Linked DNA regions of Homo sapiens: region 1 is linked to region 2. The links are contacts of gene promoters, found by promoter capture Hi-C in human tissues and cell types (Jung and others, 2019). All regions are on one chromosome and are shown on one strand. The core of a region is centred on a gene start or on the middle of the fragment in contact, and the rest is flanking DNA. Distances in the headings are between cores, read along the strand shown.

Evidence for each region. Contacts are between HindIII fragments. The study calls those that stand out against the background at their distance.
Region 1: the fragment with the promoter of SPATA32 here is called in contact with a fragment that was not itself captured in region 2 in 2 of the 25 tissues and cell types used here (dorsolateral prefrontal cortex and lymphoblastoid cells).

Annotation. Positions count from the first base shown.
Region 1 is chr17:45,260,202-45,263,695 of GRCh38, forward strand. It overlaps SPATA32 (spermatogenesis associated 32), which reads right to left and starts at 1,893. Exons shown (of 5, transcript NM_152343.3): 1 at 1,803-1,893. The coding sequence starts at 1,815. MAP3K14 (mitogen-activated protein kinase kinase kinase 14) reads right to left here. Exons shown (of 16, transcript NM_003954.5): 16 at 2,918-3,494. All of the region lies in intron 2 of MAP3K14-AS1 (MAP3K14 antisense RNA 1), which reads left to right. RefSeq lists silencers at 1,537-1,656, 1,727-1,776 and enhancers at 1,725-2,330, 1,807-1,896, 2,331-2,934. The HindIII fragment of the contact is 11,872 bases long and covers 1-3,494 here.
Region 2 is chr17:45,635,879-45,639,386 of GRCh38, forward strand. The region is part of intron 3 of LINC02210-CRHR1 (LINC02210-CRHR1 readthrough); the gene reads left to right. The region is part of intron 5 of LINC02210 (long intergenic non-protein coding RNA 2210); the gene reads left to right. It also overlaps the pseudogene ARF2P. Among named protein-coding and RNA genes, the nearest start is that of LINC02210-CRHR1, 17 kb to the left of the region's middle. The HindIII fragment of the contact is 6,431 bases long and covers 1-3,508 here.

The DNA of each region.
Region 1 (3,494 bases), core at 643-3,142, 380 kb before region 2:
TTGGGATTACAGGCGTGAGCCACCATGCCTGGCCTAATTTCTTACCTCAAATTCATATCTTGTATGTCCAGACTCTTAAGTGTGGCTGCCACGGTTCTGCCTGTCTGACCCCTGTCTCCCTTTCTAGTCTGTCATCTCTCCATACCCCACTCTCCTCGCCCTATTCATCCTTCATCCTTTCACCCAAATGAGAAACCTGGGTCATTTGTGACTCCTCCTCCCTCCGCAGCTACTGCCCTCCTACCCCTGATGCTGTCCTCATCTCCCAGTACCAGAGCCAGCACACACCCATGACTTCCTACCCTTTGGCACTTGGTGCTGAGTGCTTTGCACATTCAGTCTTCATACCTACCCTATGCCCAGTTGGCCACGGCTCTCCTCTCACAGATGAGGAAACGTGTATGAGGTCATGCAGCTATTAAGAGCAGCACACGACCCAAAGGCAGGTCTGGCTGGCTCCAAACTCTGGGATGCTACTCACTGCACTGTCTTAAATCTCTTTAGTCTTCCAGTGGGACCACTGCAACTATGTCCCCCTCCAACCTGGATTTTCAATGACCTCAGAGTGAGCCTGCTACATCTCACTTGTCTCCGGTTACCCCCAGACTCCATGTGGCCTCTTGGTCTGATCTCTACCTTCATTTTTCATCTCTTGGCATCCAGCTTCCTGTCCCTCACCCTAAGCCGAAGCTACCCCCAGAGTACCGCAGGCCTTTCTGCACCCAGTGCCTTTGCAAATGCTATTTCTTATACCTGGAAAGCCTTCTTCTGGCAAAGTCCTACTCATGCCTGAAAGCCCAATTCAAATAATCAGTGTAATCCTCTCCATGACAGACCTGGCTGTCTAATCTACGTTTTACCTTACAGGCGTGAGCCACTGCACCCGACCTCTGGTTTTTTTTTTTTTTTTTTTGACAGGGTCTTGCTCTGTGGCCCAGGCTGGAGTGGCAGCATCATAGCTCACTGCAACTCCTGGGCTCCAGTGAGCCTCCCAGCTCAGCCTCCCAAGTAGCTGGGACTACAGGCTCATGCCGCCACACCTGTCTAATTTTAAACATTTCCTGTAGAGGACAAAGTCTCGCTATGTTGCCTAGGCTGATCTTGAACTCCTGGCCTCATGTGATCCTCCCACCTCTGCCTCCCGAAGTGTTGGGATTGCAGGCGTTGAGCCATCATGCCCACCTAATTTTTGACCGTTTTTAATGCTGGCCCATGCCCTTCTGGGAGAGAGGATCCCCAAAAGAAAGCCACCATTTCAGTGGGGGATCTGACGCCCCTATGGGAAGGGGAGACACAGGGCACTGGGGGCAAACATCTTTGCTCATTGGTTCAGAGAAGAGTACAAGGCATCAACGAAGCGCTCCGTAAAAATGTGCTGAAGACTGCCGCTCCTCCCTGCAAAGCCTCAAGCATCAAGGAGGGACAACTGGATGTGATTTTTTGGATCTGCAGTTCAGGATAATTCATGAGTCGTTTCCTGTGCACAAGGCCATTGCTCCTTCTGTGGTCTCAGAACCCCTTCAAGAACCACTGACTCTGCAGTCCCTACTCCAAGGCGCGCATGCGTGTCCGTGAGAGCACATGGGTGTGCACCGCGCAGGGGCTGAGGCTGGGAGCCGTAGTCAGGGGCACCGGGTGGGCTTTGGCGGCGGGTCGACCTGCCTTTCAGGTGCCGGGGGTTTGGGAGCAGGGGAACGGGCCCTGGGCGGATTCCTGACCGCCCCCTTCGCGCCCCTCCCCCTCTCACTTTCGCTTTCCCCGCCTGCCCCAACCCTCGCCCCCGGGCGCTCGGCCGCTCCCACCTGTCACCCCCATGCAGACCGAGGCTCTGTCCTGGAGGCGGGGAGCGGGCTGGTGGATGCTGCCTCTCCGCCTCCAGTGTGCTCTTTGGCTGAGGGACTGGTGGGCGCTGGAAATATTAGAGGCGCCGGTGCCTGTGATGTCGCCGCCTCTGTGACGTCCCCGCCGCGACCCCACAGGCAGGGAGCCGCATTTAGGTTTCGGGCGGGCGGACGGGGGACGGCCCGAGTGAGGCGTCCTCCGAAGGCTGCGGGCCCGAAGCCAGAACTCCTTCCTCTCCGAAGACCTCGGGGGTGGGGCTCGCGCTTCCGCAGCGGGCCTAGAGCGAGAGGCAGGCGGCAGGTAAGCCTGGCTGTGCTGGACAGGACTTGCACCCGCTCTGCACGCCAGCGGCTCAGGGCTGCCGCCCTTTTCGTGGTCCCAGGGCCCTTCCAAGAACCGGCTAAACCAACCCAAGCCGCGCGCACACACACTTGTGCACACAGGGAGTGTGGAGCCAGATTCGATAAGGCACCCCGTGTGCCCCAGCTCCATGACCAAGGAACTCAGCACCCCGTGTGCCCCAGCTCCATGACCAAGGAACTCAGCACCCCGTGTGCCCCAGCTCCATGACCAAGGAACTCAGCCCACAAAGGCATCCCTGGCCCCATGCAGGGCTCAGGAGGCAGCGGAAAGGGTTAAGAGTCCAGGCCTCAAGGACAGGAGGGGAGGGTGGAGGGCCTGTGGTGTGCATCCGGCATCCCTGGATGGTCAGGGCCCAGAACCCATCCCTATTTCCCTTCTGGTGGTAGGGGGCTGCCTAACTTGGGCAGTGGCACAAAGCATGCAGGCTTTGTTGTCCTCCTCCTCCACCCCTCAGCCTGGCATATTTTGGCGAGGGACTTCCCTGATGCCACCGGGCAAGGTATCTTGCCTAACTGGTCTGAATGACTAGCCCAGCGTTGGGACTAGAAGCAGCCACTGGGAGGAGTGGTGGGAAAGCAGCCCCACTCAAGGGCTGAAACAGTCCTTGTCCAAAACAAGGGGGACTTGAAAAGATCTCAGCAAGAAGGCAAAGAGAGGCAGCTGTTAGGGTCGTGAGGTTCAGCAGGCCGGCAGGCAAGAGAGAGGACACCGATGGCCTGGAAACATTTGTCATCACCCCAAACTTTATTGCTTACAAAGAGTTCTCTACAACCCAGACTCTGCAGTACCAAGGCTGCAGTTCTTTATGTGCTGGGGGCCGGGGCTCTCTCCCCGGGAGCAGTCTGACTCAATGTGGACAGCTGGACAAAGGCTGTCTTGGCAAGATGTGGGAATGAGCTTCTCCCACGGAGTCTCGGCGTCCCCTGCCCCAGGAGGTTGAGGCTAGCAGACACCCCCTGACGATTCACAGCTGATTTAATGCTACGTGAGTCCTGAGTAGCTCCCCTGGGAGAAGAGGCTAAGCTGGGGCAATGGGGAAGGGGGTGCTATTCTTAGAGAAATCTGGAAGAGGTTTGAGGAGTCACATGCATGTGGACAGCTCAAGACTGTGTCCCTTCACCCCATCTCCTGGCTTGCTATGCTCCTACAGTGTCACTGCCCTGCCCTGCCCTGCCAGAGGGCAGCCATGAAAGTGCTTTGAGGTCATCAGAGTGCAAAGTGCCGTCGGCAGTACCCTCTGGCCAGGGGCAGGGCAGGGTGAGTGTCAGTGTGATGCTGAGCTGTGCTCT
Region 2 (3,508 bases), core at 118-2,617:
TTTTGATAGAAGAATGATTCAATCTGATTCACCGATGGCTGGGTTGAGAATAGGCTTCACGGGAGCAAGAGCAGAGAAGTAGGGAGGACAGTTAGGAAGTTATTTCAGTCATCCAGGTGAGAAGCGATGTGGTGTCAGATCACGGCGACAGCTGTGGAGTTAGTAAGTGGTCAGATTCTGGATAAATTTTGATAGTGGAACCGTTAGGAGTTCCTGACAGATTGGCTGTGACATTGAGAGTAAAAAAGTAAGGATAATTTCAAGCTTTTTGGCCTGAGCAACTGGAAGGTTGGAGTTGCCATCAACAGAGAAGACTGTGGGTTTGGGCACGTTTAACAGGGAAGAGCATATTTCGCTATATGGATACAACAGTATACATTGACTTTTGAATGTTCTTTTTCAAGGATCTCCCTAATACTATGAACGCGGCAGAGATAACGGACAAGCTCGGCCTCCATTCCCTCCGCTACAGAAACTGGCACATTCAGGCTACTTGTGCCACTACTGGACATGGGCTTTACGAAGGCCTGAACTGGCTCGCCAACCAGTTCCAGAACCAGAACTGATCAGAAGGATCTATTCTTTGTGCCTTGTGGCCACATCAGCTAGCCTCTGCTGTGTGCACGTGTACGTGTGTGCTGGGAGTGGAGGCAGCTTTCTCACAGTGCCTTATCCATGCCATAAGAAAAGCAGTGTTACATTTTAAGAAACCCAGTGTTAAGTTTTAAACACCACCTTCCATTTCAGTAGCTTTGATGATCATTTTTGCAATTGATGGAGAAGTCCAGAGGGCTTGCTGGTGCTCGAAGGCCAGAGCGGGCTTCATGGAGGCGAGTTGGAGCGGGGACTGAGTTCAGCTGTTGCAATCCTGGTCTGGCGTCTGGAGTCCTGTTAGTCTTTGGCATCCTTTCGTAAAAAGGAAGGAATTGTCATTCTTTTTTTTTTAAAACCATATTTTTACTGTACCTTTTCATGTTTATTTATTTTTTATTAAAAAAATTTTTTTTGAAACAGCCTCCCACTCTGTCGCCCAAGCTGGAGTGCAGTGGTGCGATCTCAGCTCACTGCAACCTCCGTCTCTCGGGCTCAAGCAATCCTCCCACCTCAGCCCCCTGAGTAGCTGAGACTATGGGTGTGCACCACCACACCTGGCTAATTTTTGTATTTTTTGTGGAGACAGGGTCTTGCCATGTTGCCCAGGCTGGTCTGTAACTCCTGAGCTCAAGGGATCCACCCACCTCAGCCTTCCAAAATGCTGGGATTACAGGCATGAGCCACTGCGCTACCGAGAAATCGTCATTCTTTACCACCACTGCTGCAGCTAGCAGCTCACTCTTCAGTGCTTTAAGCAAATGATCCTCAGGAAAGAAAAGGTATTTGCTTATTGCAGGTGCAAAGAGGCTCAGATTGGAACTTTTCCCTGAAACTATATTGTAGCCCAGAGTTCCTGATGTAAGACGCTTTATTTAAAGACATCCGTGAGCTTTTTCACTGGCATATCAATACTTCATAACACTAGGAAGGTATCCAGCCTTTTCCTTATGCTAGTTCCTTCCCTTATTTGCCAGATGGGGACCCTGTGGGGAGGTGACCCAGTGTGAGGCCGAAGCTCTTTCCCAGAGCCCCACAGGCCAGTGGAGGGTCGTGTTTGTGCTCTGGGCATCACCGTCTTGGGTCTCGGTCCCCTGCGACTGCAGCTGCTACATCCCTCCCTGCTCTGAGATAAATGTTCTTCCCATGAAGCAGACGGTTCACTTTTGGGATGGCGCTGTCTCCAGGTTTGGCTGTCTCAGTCCAGATGATGTTTGGTTAGTTTCCATTCCCAGAACCACAAGCCTTTGAGTTCTGAAAGTTTGTGACAGAATCAAGAGGCTAATTTGGGAGATGTGAGATTCCCAGCCCACCTGGTATTGCCCTCGAGTTAGTGGTAAATTTTGCTATGGAAAATATCTCTTGTCAAGACCAAGCTCCGGCGCATTGCCTCCCTCTTTTGGATGGCCATGGCATCTCATGAACCACTTGGAAATGTGTTTTATGTTGTTCTCCAAATATTAATAAAAATATCCCGGAGAGGAGGTTCACTAAGTAGCCTAGAGCTCGTTTGTCCAGACAATTGTTGGCCATATTAGTACCTAAGCACTTCTATTTAAACTTTTTCTTCTTTTTTTTTTTCTTTTTGAGATGGAGTCTTGCTCTATCACCCTGGCTAGAGTACAGTGGCGTGATCTTGGCTCACAGCAACCTCTGCCTCCCGGGTTCAAGCGATTCTCCTGCCTCAGCCTCCTGAGTAGCTGGGACTATAGGCGCCCGCCACCACGCCCAGCTAAATTTTGTATTTTTAGTAGAGACAGGGTTTCATCATGTTGGCCAGGCTGGTCTTTAATTCCTGACCTCAAGTGATTCACCTGCCTCGGCCTCCCAAAGTGCTGGGATTATAGGCGTGAGCCACCACGCCTGGCCTATTTAACCTTCTAAAACTACTTTTTCAAGAAATATTTATTCGAATTATAGAAGATTGGCCAGGCACAGTGGCTCATGCCTGTAATCCCAGCACTTTGGGAGGCCAAGGTGGGAGAGTCGCTTGAGCCCAGAGTTTGAGATCAGCCTGGGCAACATGGCAAGAACCTGTCCCAAATTTAATATAATAAATTTTAAATAAAATTTTAAAAATAAAATTAAATAAAAAATTATACAGGAGGGCCATGTCAGGTGAATTTTAACTGAAGCAAACCTTATTTATTCATAACAATGAAGTTTATATTACTAGGAAAAAATTTCATTCCATGATAAATGTGTGGTATCATGTTTTTCTTCAAAATATTGAATTTAAAGAATGTTCATTGCAATACTGGCAACTAAGTCCAGATTTGCTTTTTAACCATGGAGTAATTTCTGAGAAATATTTGTTTTATTTTATTTTATTTTATTTTATTTATGTTATTTATGTTATTTATGTTATGTTATGTTATGTTATGTTATGTTATGTTATGTTATGTTATGTTATTTTTTTGAAACAGAGTCTTGCTCTTGTTGCCCAGGCTGGAGTGCAATGGTGTGATCTCTGCCTCCTGGGTTCAAGCGATTCTCCTGCCTCAAGCTCCTGAGTAGCTGGGATTACAGGCGCCCTCCACCACGCCCGGCGAATTTTTGTATCTTTAGTAGAGACAGGGTTTCACCACGTTGGCCAGGTTGGTCTTGAACTCCTGACCTCATGATCCGCCTGCCTCGGCCTCCCAAAGTGTTGGGATTACAGGTGTGAGCCACCGCACCCGGCCTCTGAGAAATATTTAGATTGTACGCCTCAAATGGGCAGGGACTGTGTCTTACACTTTTGTATTTATGCTACAGCTTACCTAATACAGTGCCAGGCCTCGTTAAACACTTATTGATTGCTCAGACGATAAAGAACTTGCTTTGGAAGGAGGAGAGGATAGTCATGTGCTTCTGAATGTATTGAACTTCTTGAAATCTCTTTCCTCATCAATTTTAGCAGAGTTTCTATTGAAAC